2 separate regions of the Homo sapiens genome follow, and region 1 is linked to region 2. The links are contacts of gene promoters, found by promoter capture Hi-C in human tissues and cell types (Jung and others, 2019). All regions are on one chromosome and are shown on one strand. Each heading gives the region's core, a stretch centred on a gene start or on the middle of the fragment in contact. The rest is flanking DNA. Distances are from core to core; before and after follow the strand shown.

What was found. Contacts are between HindIII fragments. The study calls those that stand out against the background at their distance.
Region 1: a contact is called between a fragment that was not itself captured here and the fragment with the promoter of JMJD1C in region 2, in 3 of the 25 tissues and cell types used here (dorsolateral prefrontal cortex, hippocampus and spleen).

What each region holds. Positions count from the first base shown.
Region 1 is chr10:63,542,574-63,549,936 of GRCh38, reverse strand. The region is part of intron 1 of REEP3 (receptor accessory protein 3); the gene reads right to left. Among named protein-coding and RNA genes, the nearest start is that of REEP3, 25 kb to the right of the region's middle. The HindIII fragment of the contact is 5,858 bases long and covers 1-5,450 here.
Region 2 is chr10:63,463,179-63,470,597 of GRCh38, reverse strand. JMJD1C (jumonji domain containing 1C) reads left to right here and starts at 4,621. Exons shown (of 26, transcript NM_032776.3): 1 at 4,621-5,103. The coding sequence starts at 4,936. JMJD1C-AS1 (JMJD1C antisense RNA 1) reads right to left here and starts at 5,369. Exons shown (of 1, transcript NR_027182.1): 1 at 4,035-5,369. RefSeq lists enhancers at 4,159-4,208, 4,659-4,828, 4,909-4,978, 4,600-5,389 and silencers at 4,479-4,628, 5,169-5,508. The HindIII fragment of the contact is 6,698 bases long and covers 1,901-7,419 here.

The sequences.
Region 1 (7,363 bases), core at 1,272-3,771, 81 kb before region 2:
AAAGCACTGCCCTATATAAACCATCTGTTCCAGCATGGTTTCCTCAATATGCCTCTTGTATTTCAACTTCAATCCTGGGTTATGATTCTTAGCTGGAATGCCTCCTTCCCTCCTCATCTTTCCTCTTCCCCACGTGGATCATTCTAGCTTCCTCCCCTTTCTTATCTGTACCCTAACATTCCAACAATGAGAAACATTTACTTAACTGTTTAATTCCAGTAAACATATATGGTGGTTTCAGAATTGCTAACCATACACATTCATGGTATACAACTTTATCAACTACAGTAGTATCATGTACGAGTCTTTTTGAGTTCAGTCTTACTGATTCCAATCATTTCCAAAGTTACTTAGATCAGCAGCTTTTCTCTCTATTCCCTTCGACAACGTCACCCAAACTGGAGTACAGTGGTGTCATCACAGCTTATTGCAGCCTCAAAATCTGGGCTCAAGGGATCCTCCTGCCTCAGCCTCCTGAACAACTAGGATGACAGGCGAGGGCCACCATGGCTAGCTAACTTTCAAATTTTTTGTAAAGATGGGGTCTCACTATGTTATCCAGGCTGGTCTCCAACTCCTGGGCTCAAGTCATCCACCAGCCGTGGCCTCCGAAAGTGTTGGGATTACAGGCATGAGCCACCACACCTGGCTGTTCTTTCTTTATCTCTCTCCCCACTCCACACCTCTGCCTTCTATGGAATAAATGAGACATAGTTCTTTATTTCTTTGGTTTCTAGCTTTATGCTATTAGACTACCTACACTAGGTCAGTCCTTGGTGTTGCTTTTTGCCCAACATGCCCCATGAGAACATGAAAACCAAAATGTCAAGGTTATCAGGTTTCAGGAAATGTCCTTAGGTGAAAGGTGGCTTTAGTTCTCTCTTTACCTTTCTTGGCCTCTGGCCTCTGAGTAAGCTGTACTTTTTAATAAACTCAATGGTGCATTTAAAAAAAAAAAACTCAAAGGGCACTTATTTTGACTCTTACAAGAGATCACCATCAAACATTTCCAGTTCTGAGAACTTACATGTAACAGTAGTATATTCTTTATACAATATTCATTGGTTCTAAAGTTTTTGGTTGACCATGTTATCAAGTAGTATTTGATTATCATTTTGTTTATACAAAAACTCGTGGTCTGAATGGCTTCCCTGACTGGTGCATTGAGAAAGCGTAATTAAATAAATATTTTAGCTAGCATTTTTTTTTTCAATGGGAGGGCCCATCGCAGTTACATTTTTGTTCATTTTGCTGAAAATAAAACCCTAAAACCTGATCTTTAAATTTTCAGCAGCTTTGTTCTAAAAAAGGACAATCAGAAATATCCATAAAAGAAAATCAGTTTCTCATTAGGCACTTCTGGGAATAGATAAATAAAACAGAGGTATAGGAGTTCCCTATACTTGATGTGAATTATGTAAATTAAGCACCTAAACTACTGCTTATGCAGGGGAGTGTCTAATGTTCTTTGATGCTTATGGTAAAAAAGCTCTTCTTTAAATGGTAATTGCATGTTCAAGAATAGATTTTTTTTTCTTTAAATGTACCATCATTCAATTTTTAGGCCAAATTTGAACAATCTCAATTTCTATTCAATTCTAAAGATTTAATAGCACAAAATAAAAACTCAGGAAGCTCTAATTCTTTCCCCAAAGATATATAAAGAGAATGGAAATGTGGTACAGCATTACATAATGTTGCCACCCACTCCAGAAACAGAAATGAGTGCCTAGCAACAGTAAAGGGTCATCTCAGGAGAGTGCTGATTGCTCATTGGAGCATTCTAAACACAGATGCTTTTCTATCCTTATCACTTCCAGTCCCCGCTGAACACAGGCTGGTTACCTTGGATCCCAGTGCCATCTCATGAAAATCTTCTTATGACAATCAATAAGTGACACTCAGGGCAGCCTCTACCTTTAGGTTACATCCTTGGGAAAAACGTCAAAATAGATTTTGAAGCATTAGAAGAAAATAGGCATTCTTTGTACAGAATTGTCTCAGTGTTCTCCTTCCCTGGTGATATTTCTTTTAAAATATGAGTTGTTAGTGTTTGTAGTGGTATTTTTCTGACCTCATTCTCCATTCCACAGGTTTTAGCTGCAAGGCTGAGGCATCCAACTCTTAATAAAGAGGTTATGCATGAGTGTGAGTGTGCCCAATATTATCTGATGCAAATGGTAGAAGAGCTTTTCTTAAAATAGTAATCTCATCTTCAAGAATACATTTTTATTCTCTTTAAATGTACAACCATTCACATTTTAGGCTAAATTTGAACAATCTTGATTCCTATGCAATCCTAAAGGTGTGATGGTACAAATAAAGGCCCAGGAATCTCTAGTTTTTTCCCCAAAGATATAAAAAGAGGATAGAAATGTGGTCCAGCATTACATAATGTTGCCACCACTCCAGGAAAAGAAGTGAGAGCACCTTTTCCTATGTTTCTTGGCTACTTGCATGCACCCCACCCCTTTTTTGGTGTGAAGTATCTTGTCCATTTTTCTTTGTATATTTTGAATATGAGCCATTTTTTGCATTTACATGTGATTTTCTCCCATTTTGGCTTCTTTTTTCACTCTCAATGGTGTCTTTGATGAAGAGAAGTGCTTAATTTTAGTGTTTTCCCATTTGTCATTATCAGCCTTTTCTTTCATGATTAATGCTTTTCTGTATCATGTTTAAGGTTGTTTTTGGTTATCTTAAAGTCGTGAAGAATTGGCCAGGCATGGTGGCTCACGCCTGTAATCCCAGCACTTTGGGAGGCTGAGGCAGGCAGATCACGAGGTCAGGAGTTTGAGATCAGCCTGGCCAACATGGTGAAACCCCGCCTCTACTAAAAATACAAAAATTAGCTGGGCATGGTGGCGGGCGCCTGTAATCCCAGCTACTTGGGAGGCTGAGGCAGGAGAATTGCTTGAAACTGAGAGGCGGAGGTTGTAGTGAGCTGAGATTGCACCACTGCACTCCAGCCTGGGTGAAAGAGTGAAACTCTGTCTCAAAAAAAAAAAAAGTCACGAAGAAGTTTTCTATATTATCTTTGAGAAGCTTTACTGTTTTATTTTTATCTGTGATCCAACTGGAATTTATTTTTTGTGTTTGGTCTGAGATAGGTGACTATGATTCTGCAAGTGATGGATATCCAATTGGCATACAATCATAATTGCGAATAGCCATCTTTCCCCAATGCTGTGTAGTGCTACCTTTGTGATAAGACAAATGCCTATATATGTATGGGTCACTTTCTAGACTCTGTGTTTTTTATTGATCTATGTGTCCATCTTTGACCCAATACCATGTTGTTGTAATTACTGTAGCTTTATAATCAATCTTGATATAAGTAACTTATTCCACTACTAATATCTATACGGCATCCCAGTATTTTGTTCTTTGCTCTTCTACTTCAAGATTGTCTTGACTATTCTTGGCCCTCTGCATTTCCATATACATTTTATAAATAACTTGTCCATTTTCTTCTCTTCTCTAGGTATACTTACTCCCTACTTCATGAACTCATGAGGTTTCTTCACTTTGAATATTCACAGCCAATCTGTCAAACAATCCTATGGGTTCTATCTTTAAAATGAATCTAGCATCTGACCACTGCTACCAGCCTGGTCCAAGTCACCACCCACTACTCACCACTACTCGCTGGTTTATTAATACAGCCTCTTAACTCGTTTCCAAGCTTCCATCTTTGCTTCGATACAGGCTGTTCTCTGTAGTAGAGCTTTTAAAACACAAAATCTGATAATATCACTTCTCTGCTCAGAACCCTCCAACAGCTTCCCACCTCACTCAGAGCCAGTTCCAGTGTCTTTAACAATGGCCTACACCTCTGGTCACACTACTCTGCTCCAGCCACATTGACCTCCATGTGATGAGTACAGACCTGACTTAGGGTTTACACCCGGTTGGCTTCCTTCCTGGGACACTCTTCCCCAGAATCTGTGTGGCTAATGCCTTCACCTTTAACTCTGTTCAAATATCCACTTCTCAGAGGCTTTCCCCAACTACCTTATTTAAAATTGCAAGTTACCCCGAGACTAAATGAAAATTTGATTCCAAACAAAATGTTTTACCTTCAACAGAAATGTAACACCATAAAGAAGATGAGGCTGGGCGCAGTGGCTTACGCCTGTAAGAATCACTCGAACCCCGGAGGCAGAGGTTGCAGTGAGCTGAGATCGTGCCACTGCACTCCAGCGTGGGCAACAGAGCAAGACTCCATCTCAAAAAAAAAAAAAAAAAAAAAAAAACAGAAGTTGGCCAGGCGCAGTGGCTCATGCCTATAATCCTAGCACTTTGGGAGGCCGAGGTGGGTGGATCACGAGGTCAAGAGATCGAGACCATCCTGGCCAACGTGGTGAAACCCTGTCTCTACTAAAAATGCAAAAATTAGCTGGGCATGGTGGCGGGTGCCTGTAGTCCCAGCTATTTGGGAGGCGGAGGCAGAAGAATCACTTGAACTTGGGAGGCGGAGGTTGCAGTGAGCCGAGACCGCACCACTGCACTCCAGCCTGGCAACAGAGCGAGACTCCATCAAAAAAAATAAATAAATAAAAAGAAGTTCAAATGTTCTATAACGCTGTAGGATGGCTATAGTTAACAGTAATACACAGTTTCAAATAGGTAGAACCAGAATATTGAATATTCCCAGCACAAATAAATGGTAAACATTTGAGATGATGGGTATGCTAATTACATTAATCTGTTCACTGTATGTTATATGTATGTCTAAATATATTATGTAAATTTTAAAAATTAAATTTAAAACAAAGAAACAAGTACCCATAATCACCACAAACAATTTAAAAAGCAAAGTTTTTCATTTGCTTCAAATAGCTAATTCTGTCTTCTTTGTATTTATTAAAAAATAAGATAGCCACAGAAATTAATCTAATCACAATAAATACCCCAGAGTTGCAGATGATAACTTTTTCTGCTGGTCATAGAAATCACTGTTCCTTTGTATTTTGCATTTTTAACATATGAAGAAGAGCTATATAAATCAAATAGTCTTTGCTTTGGTGACATTTAACTAATCCCTAATGCATATACATACGGGGAGAATTGGGTCGTCTTCTCAAAATCTTAACATAGGGTATTTTTTTCCAATAGCAGTTTTACCAAATGTTACTTTAAAAACTTACTACATATTATCCATACTAGAAAATATATGTAATATGTGCAAGTTATGAAGTCTAACAACAAAATGAACACATGCAAACCCAGTATCCAAATTAAAATGAAAGCATTGCCCTAACATCCCATCTGCTTCTGTGTACCTTCCTTATCTAAAGTGCTCTGTTCACCCTTTCCCCAACAACACACTTGCTGTTGTTTAAGCTCATCATTCCTTCTCTAAACCTTTTCTTCCTCTCATGTTTGACACCTCCCACTCAAGGATCCAAGCCAGAAATCTGAAATTCCTTCCTCCTCCTCACACCCAATCGTCAAGTTTTGTCAAATTCTCCCACCTCCCCTAAATCTCTTTCATATCTGTTCCCATGTCCCAAATACTCACTTCAGCCTTAATTCTGACCTTTCTTATTTTTCATGGGAACTGTCTGCCCTCATTCACTTTCCTTACACCCCCTGTTAATATCAATCATCACTTAAAATATTTCAACAACCTTTCCTTGCTTTCTCATTAAAGAAAAATCCCCTCATAGGCTATGCAGGTTAGACCAAATTGATCTAACTCCTTTGACTTCTCCAGTTTTATCTTTTGCATCTCTGTGCCCCACTGATATTGAACTGCTTGATTTCTGAAGAGAGTCATATTATTTTTTTCTGCCTTGGCATATTTTGTTCTCTCTGACTGGGGCCTTTTTACAAGGAAGATAATTTCAAAGATGAAATTGAAAGTTCATTTTCTCTGGGAAAATATCTTTGCCTCCTCTAGGTGAGGAACCCTTTCTCCATGTTCTCATAACATTTTGTACATACTTGAAGTAGCAGTGTGACTTTGGGCAAGTTGTTAACCTTTCTGTGTCTGTTTGCTTTTCTCTAAAAACGTAACAATAATAGTACACATCTTGCTGTGAACATTAAATGAGTTAAACCATATAATAATGCCAGGCACACGGTACACATTTTGTAAGTATTACTAGTATTACTGTCATCAGACGATATTATGTTCACTGACTTTCCCGTTTGTGGTCTCTGTGTTGGGTATTGCTTTAAAACGGAAACTGTGTCATGCTTAGCTCTGCATCCCCAGGCCTGATACGTAGTAGGTATTCAATAAATACTTGCAGAAAGAATAAAAGAAAAAAATCCCTTTCTTTACTGTGGATAGGAAGGCAGAACTGAATCTTCTGTACACACAATTTACGTAAGTTGAGACTAGAAAATGAAAATGTGACAAAAGAAATGGACAAACTGCTAAATATTCTGACAGTTCTTTGACTTGCTTTTATGGTTTTAAAACACAATAGTTAGACCTTGTCTCTAAAAAAAAAAAAAAAAAACTTAATGGGGCATGGTGGTGCAAGTCTGTAATCCCAGCTACTTGGCAGTTTGAGTCAGAAGGATGGCTTGAGCCCAGGAGATGGTGGCTGTAGTGAGTCATGACTGTGCCACTGTACTTTAGCCTGGGCAACACAGCGAGACCCTGTGTCAGAAAATAAATAAATAATTCCAAACAATACAAGTTTTCCATGTTATTAAAACATGAGAAAGATTAAAGAAAACCAATGTAGAACAGAATTTTCATGTGAACAGATTTGTGGGAAATAATAAAATGATTATTATTTTAAGTCACTAAGTTATTGGGTGGTTTGTTACACAGTATTAGATAACTGAAAGCAGCAAGAAACTCCAGGTGGCCTTGGTGGCAGTGAACACAGACTCCTGAGGTCACAGAAAGCCAGGGGTGAATCATTACTGCTGGATGAATGGCTGGGGAGGAGCACTGGGGTATAATAAAACATAGAGAAACGTGGCAGCAATATGGCATGAGGAATAGCTAGAGGAGAGAACTGCAGGGCTGCACGATGCTACTCTGATGATACCTGTGGCATCCTGTACCTTGAACGTGCCCAGAGAGACATAGTAAAGAGCTGAGGTCGTACCTAAGTTAGACATGTTAGAATTATTAATCTATTAGACTTACGGTCAAACTGTTAAAGTCACCTTACTTAAGGTCCACAAATTGGCATCTACATGATATTAAGATGTGAAAAAACTCCAAAATATAAAAATTCCAGAAGCTTATTTTTCATCATCTTTCATTTCTTTATAATTCTAATAATGTTCTTACAAAAGGGTTGCGAGTCTGAAATACTGATTAGTGCCTTGCTGTAATGCAAATGGATTGTTTTAAAGGAACAAGGAGTGGTAATATAGTGCTGTATTTGTA
Region 2 (7,419 bases), core at 3,372-5,871:
GATCATTTTTGGGTTTGTATTAAATTGGTAGTTTGGTAATGAAATGAATGTTTTTTCTTGAGAATTGTAACTCTTCCTTCTGTATCTGTTCTTTAGAAATTTTCCCAGGAAAAACCTTGCTTTTCTACTGAAGCATGTTTTCGAAGGCTTAACATTGTACCTCCATGATGAAAAGAGATAATGTACATAAGACATTATTTTGAAGGTGATGAATAACCCTGTAGGAAGAACAGGAACTCTCATTTATGTCCGAGATTCTAAGTTCCTCTTAGTTGAGTTAGATTTAGAAAAAGGTACATTTTGCTATATTCATTCATTCATTCATTCATGCTATAACATGTTTTATCATCTCTTAGCAAGGCCTGGTAGCTGCTGGGAGTATAGTTATGAACAAGACAAAGATGCCTTATGGAGCTTATATATCCTATAAAGGGAAAAAATATAAATGATCAATTACACAATAAATGGTGTAAATACAGTTGTGGTAGTACTAAGACAAATAAGGCATGTTTTGAAAATCTGTTATTGGGGAATCCTACATAGTCTGAGAATCAGGGATGGTTTCCTTGAGGAAGTGATATTTTGATATTTGAGTTAATTTATCATTATCATAAATGTGATTGAGGAATTCATTTTAAATAAGTGCTTAGGGTATACAAACCCCAAATACAAATTATTTAAGGTTTAATAAAAAAATGGTAACATAAATTTATATTCCATTTATTCTTGGTCTTCCACTTGCATAATTCAGTTGAAACTCTTGGTTTCCCTCATTTAAATAGTGGCTTGCACGATTCTTAGCCCTATCTATATATATAATCTAAGACTTCATAAACGCAGTCCATTATTTACATTTGACAATTAATAAAAGCCTTCAAGTTATAATAGGTTTGAAAAATATTTGTTAAAATGCATTAAATTTGGATGAAATTCTATTGATAGTTCCTTAATTAAATAAACCAAAGCATTTCTATTGTCTATCTTTCCAGATAGACTGTGAGCTTCTCAAGGATAAAGGTCCTATCTCCAGAACCTTGCAGGATGTGACCCACATAGTAAGTGCTAAATAAATACTGAACACAGCAATTATGAGTAAACTGTAAATAAGGATGAAACAACTTGATAACTGACCTTCACGTTTCTTTTAAGTGACTTTTTAGTATAATAGTTAATAGCAGGGAGCCTTTGTTATCACAAGATCTGGTTTTGAAAACCAGTTTCTTAATGTGTATTCTTAGGCAAGTTACTAAACTTCTCTAAACCTCATTTTCTTTATCCTCAAAATGAGATTACGTGTGTAAAGTACTTAGTATACTGTCTGACACATAGTAAGTGTTCTATAAGTGGTGGCTAAAAAGATGTGTTAAACTTTTTGTCTGTGTTAGATAATATCTGTGATATTTAAAGTAGACATGTATAGTGACATAAAATATTAGTATGTATGAGAGCAGATGATTGACACTTTCCACAGTTACATACCAAGTCAAAAAGTGAAAAATCTATAACTACTAGGCTTTTGCTTATTCAGACTAAACTAAGTAGATAATTATGGTTCTTATTGCAGTGAATACATTTTCTTCCTTTATAAGTCAGTTTTTTAAAAAAACAAAATAGTTTGTGGGTTTTTTTTGTATTTTAAAAATGTTTTTTAGAGACAGGGTCTTGTGATGTTGCCCAGCCTGAACAGAAGTCCTGGGCTCAAGAGATCCTCCAGTTGCAGCCTCCAGAGAAGCTGGGACAACAGACACATGCCATCATCCAGCCCAAGCTGTTTTTATGAATAAATTTTTGTGAACTTCTAAAAAGGGAAAAAATCAAATAATCTCCCAGTCTTTGGTGTAGATTAAGATATTTGATGTAGGAGGTTTGCTTGAATTGATGTGTGCATAGGCATATTTAATGGACATATTTACACGTGGGGATGGAAAGACTAGAAAATCTAATTTATATGTCTAATTTTCAGCTTCTATAAGTAAACTTAGTTATTTTAAGTAATTCACTGTCATTCTTTTTACCTGTATAATGAAAACAAATACCATTACTCTTCTGTTTCCGAGTATCTTTATGGAAGTAAAGAATGTAAGGAAACAAGTTAAGAAACAAATATTCTGAAGTTTCAAAACCAACTTGAAAAATTTTTTAAATTCCTTGTTATTTACAAAGTTATGATTTGCTGGCAAAAATAAAATAATAAAAATACCCCTTAATACAAAACGAAGCAAAAAATGCCAGCAAACAAACAAAAAATCTTTAAGGACTTTTTATTCTACATTTAAAAAAATGTACTTTTAAATTTTTCCAACAGCAAAATATCCACAAATTAGTGTAAACTCTAGGCATTGGCTGTAGTCAAGGGATTAGTAGAAGAGAATTTGGACCAGAGTTCTAAGAATATTAAGATACTTGATTAAAAATATTTTGGGGATATATGCCCTCCTGAAAAACTTTGTTTCTATACATGAAATATTTTGATTGATTTGTTGGATTACATGCTTTTCAGAGGACTGAAAAGGATGGAATTCAACATGTAGTGGGAGTTCCCAGGGGCCCATTTAGAGCAGTTTGCCTACAAAATTGAAAACAGCTGGCAGTTTTATATAAGGCAACTAGCAACCTATACTCTTAAGAATGTAATTTGGTGAGTGGGATTTATGTAATAACTGATGAATTTGCATGTTTTTCTCAAATGACTTTATTTGTATTTTTCGTTTGCTCCTAGGATATCACTGAAAATTAGGATTCAGGCATTTTTGCATTTTTACAATTGCATCATGCCCATGGTCACAAAGCAGATCATTGATGACTTGGTATCTGGATGTTGATCTCCCTACTCTTTTATCCTTACATATGTTGAATTATTGTCACCAAGTCACTTTACTGGTTCCTTAATCTACACTGATTTTAGAAATCTTCATCTGTAATTCTTAAGATAATTTGCTAAGTATTATACAGTGTACACTGAAAAAGTGGACTTGGAAATAAAATTGCCCAAGCAAAATTTTTTCTCTCAACTTGCCGATATGCATTTTTGGGTATGTTTTGCTGTTTTAATTTATTACAGGTTTTTTGTTTGTTTGTTTGTTTTCGGGGGGACTGAGTTTTGCTCTTGTTGACCAGGTTGGAGTGCAGTGGCACGATCCCGGCTCACTGCAACCTCCAGCTCCCAGGTTCAAGTGATTCTCCTGCTGCCTCCTGAGTAGCTGGGATTACAGGCATGCTCCACCATGCCCAGCTAATTTTTTGTATTTTTAGTAGAGACTAAAAATACATTTAGTTTCATCATGTTGGCCAGGCTGGTCTCGAACTCCCGACCTCAGGTGATCTGCCTCCTAAAGTGCAGGGATTACAGGCGTGAGGCACCGTGCCCAGCCTATTTATTACAGTTCTATGTTTGGTCTTTGGCAAAATTTGACCATGATTATTAAAATCCATCTTCCTTATAATTTTGGTTTCTAACCTATTAGCAGTGGTTGTGTTTCTCCACTTCAAATTGCCCAGCTTGAGTGTTCTAGAGAAAACAGATAAAAGCCTTATAGTTATTTTAAACATTCAGATTACTACTGTAAACTCTGTTAACTTTTTTTTTTTAAATAGAGGTTCAGGAAAATCTCAAGAAACTGAAATTTAGAATATTGGACTACCTATAAAAAAGCAGTATAAAGGGTGCCTGAAATCGAACTGCTCACTGACATTTGTAGGGAGGTTTGATTTATAACAAATAAGTTGATCAAAGAAGAGTGATTGTTCCAAGTTAGAGATCTTTGTGTGGGTTAGGGAGTCCGATTGTAATTGGATGGGAAATAAATATTTTTTTTCTTGAATTGTGATTGGCTAAAATCCTTTTCTTTCCATGGTATTTTCTAATAACTGAATCTGGGGATTTTCTCTGCTTTTATTATCTGACCAGTGTGTTTGAGCTGTGTACCAGTACTAAAAGTACTAAGACTGTCGCAGACACGGTTTGTGAAATTTCAGGACGTTGACAAGGGCCCGCCACGGAGCATTTGCTGTTCTTATAATAAAGCAGTGACGAATTTAAATCTGTGAATAGCTTAAACATGTAATTAGTATCACCACAAATGAGAAGAATGAAAGGATCACATTTTCCCCCTCGTTTTCCCTTGAAGTCATGAACGGTTGGTTCTGCTGTGACTTTGGGGCTTAGTTTTCAGTAGAAGTGTTGTCCTGCTCTGCTGCTGTTACTGCGGGACTGCTAATTCAGGCTAACTCAGGCGGCGGGCGCTGTGTGCTCTGAACATCAAACCGCGGGTGAGGCGTCAACCCAGGAGTTTATTTTGTGATCAGAGTGGAACCACTACACTTCACTTTCCCCTCACCTCCACCTCTGAGGGAGCAACGAATACAAAGGTAGACCCCCAAAAGCTTTGAATAGCTGTCGCCTACTTTCCCGCGGCCCTCTTCATTTTTTCGTCTCCCGCTGCCGCCGCCGCCGCCGCCTCTGGATCTGGACGGACCCAGTGGCCGCTGCCGCCTCCGCAGGGCCGGGCACTACTTTCCGTCTGCGGTGGTTCCGCCGACCCTCCCGCGGCTGCTGCCCCGCCCGCGCCGGCGGAAGGAGACGCGCTGCGCGCCGCCGCTGCCCGGGGAGGGAGACGGAGCAGTACTGGCCGCGGCGCGGTGGCGGCGGCTGGGCTGCCTCGGGGTCTTCGACGGCCGCGTTGGGTTTTGTTTCAGTTTTCTTGTGTGGCGCTGCAGCACAAGGCTGCGAATCTGGGAGTCCAAAGGAGTGTTTGCGGGGAGGGCCCGAGGTCGCTGTGTCCGGGGCAGAGCGGCCGGTTCGTCCCGAGTCTGCGCTCTTTCGGGTCCGCTGCTGTGTCCCGGTCCGCTCTCCTCAGCATGAGCGGCCGGTAGGAGTGAGGTTTCATCGGTTCCCTCGCACTGGAGGAGGCAGCGGCCGCTTCGGCAGCGACAGCTATGGCGGTAGAGACGCGGGCAGAGCTGGTGGGTAAGCGGTTCCTGTGTGTGGCGGTCGGCGACGAGGCACGTTCGGAGCGCTGGGAGAGCGGACGCGGCTGGCGAAGCTGGCGAGCGGGGGTCATCCGAGCCGTGTCACACAGGGACAGCCGCAATCCGGACCTGGCGGTAAGAGAGTCAGCGCCCCCCTTTTCCCCTGCCGCGCCCGCACCCGGCTCTCGCAGACGTACCTTGCAGGCTTCCCTCTGGCGCCTCGCTCAGCCCGGCCAACTGGCGGTCACGCCCCTCTGCTGAACCCTTGGCGCGTTTGCCCGCATCCCTTGCCTGGGTCCCTGCGTCTCTCCGAGCGGCTTCCCCTGTGGAGGTGGTGTCGGAGCAGGACTCCCGGGATAGCCGCGGAGGCTGCCCTGGCCCCCATCCCGGAGGGGTCGACCGCGGCTCCCCGCTGTGGCGCCTGGGCGGCCACGGAGACCTCCCCGAAAGGCGGAGCCGCGAGTCCGGCGCCGCGCGGGCAGGTGGGGGTAGGGGGCGGACCACTCATGGCGACAGGCGGCCAGCTTCCCTGGTATCTCTTTTCTTGGAAAAGTCTTCATAGTGCTGTAGCTCGAGACTTAAAACTTATCCTGTAAGGTTGCTGAAGGGGAGGGAGAAAAGAAAAGAGACCTTCCCACACAGTCCGGGGATTCCTATGTGTTTTAGAGGCAGAGGCCGTGGTGGTGGCTGTGCCCGGATTCATCCTCTCCTTAATAGATGCTTGGCTTTCTAACCGTAAAGGATAAAAGTGAAAAATTTTGGTATGGAGGGTAATCTCTCTTTCTGTCCCCAATGTGCTTTTCTTGTTAGAAAGGTATAGTTCTTTGGAGTCAAGCTGTTTCTGGGTTTTATACGATTTTAAATAAGACGAAAAATGTTGTCAATTAAAATGTTAAATGCCATGCAGAATTGATTATCTTTTTTTTTTTTTGGTTTCTTACATGTGACGCTGCCAGTGCTTTCTTTGAGTAGCGTAGGTATGTGCATGATATTGAGCTGTAATATGCTCTGTTGTGTTCCAAGTACATTCTCACTGAGGGACAGCTTGAAGGTAAGGGGCGGAGTAGAGACAAGACATGGACTAGACTTCCAAAGGTTGATTTATGAATACGTAATCTGTGAAATTTATTTGTAATGCCCTGAGCCATTTACTTTTTCAATGAAAACTTCAAATTTAGGAAATTTTTTTCCCTTTGTGTGCATGAAAGCTTACAATTCCAAATTCATTGTAATATTTGTACAGGTATCTACCTAATATTTTTTACCTACCTATTTTAATAGTTTCTGAGTGTGTTTTTGTAAACTCGGGTTTTCCTCACTGTAGTCAATGATATGGTTAATGCGGCATGTATTAATATTGACTCGATATCGCAAAATAGGTGTGTTTTGCTGATAGGTATTTCTAACAGAAAATAGAGGTAGTTTTGAAGGTTTTGGCTGGTTATTTTCGTATAGAAATGTATAATCTTCCTTAAAAAGTATTGGTGATGTTAGTGGTTCTAAAAATTATGGCAGTTCAATTCAGTAACTATTTTTGTTTGTGTAAAAGGCTGAGGTAAGAGGATTGCTAGAGCCCAGGACTTATTAAGAGTCCAGCCTGGGCAACATAGGTGAGACCCCCTCATCTGTAAAAAAGGAAAAAAAAAATTTGTATATATAAATAACTTAATTGCTCTCTTAGTTGGGAATTTAAGTGATTAAAGAGTTAAGTTTGCATATGTTAGTAAGGTATTAAGCTGGATATTAAAAAATAAATTATCTATGGATGGTAGAGATTGACTGGAAAGAATAGGAGTTTCTTCAGGTGATAGAAATGTTTCCTATCCTGATTGTTGGTTACACAGATATATATATTTGTCAAAACTCGTTGAATTGATACTATCTTTGCGTTTCACCATATCTAAATTTTACCAAAAAAAGAAAAATGTATGTTGAACCATACCTATGTGAACCCTTGATGAGTTTTTTTAATCTGTCTTTATTTGAAAATTTGAATATTAATTTAGTTTTTTTAGCCTAGAATCTACCATTTTAGATTTATTCCCAGATTTTCTTACATTCACATTTCTTAAACGAAACTTGGAACAGTTTAGCATTAACATAATGTAATATTCCTGTTCGACTTTGATTACTGCAGAGTAGATTTTAAGTTACATGAAATTAGGCTAGGCACAGTGGCTCACGCCTGTAAACCCAACACTTTGGGAGACTGAGATGGGAAGATACTTGAGCGCAGGAGTTTTGAGACTAGCCTGGGCAACATGGCGAAACCCTGTCCCTACAAAAAATACAGAAATTAGCCGGGCATAGTAGTACAATGCCTGTGGTTCCATCTACTGGGGCGGCTGAGGTGGGAGGATCACCTGAGCTCAGTGAGGTTGAGACTGCAGTGAGCCAAGATTATGCCACTGCACTCTAGCCTGGGCGACAGAGTGAGATCCTGTCTCTAAA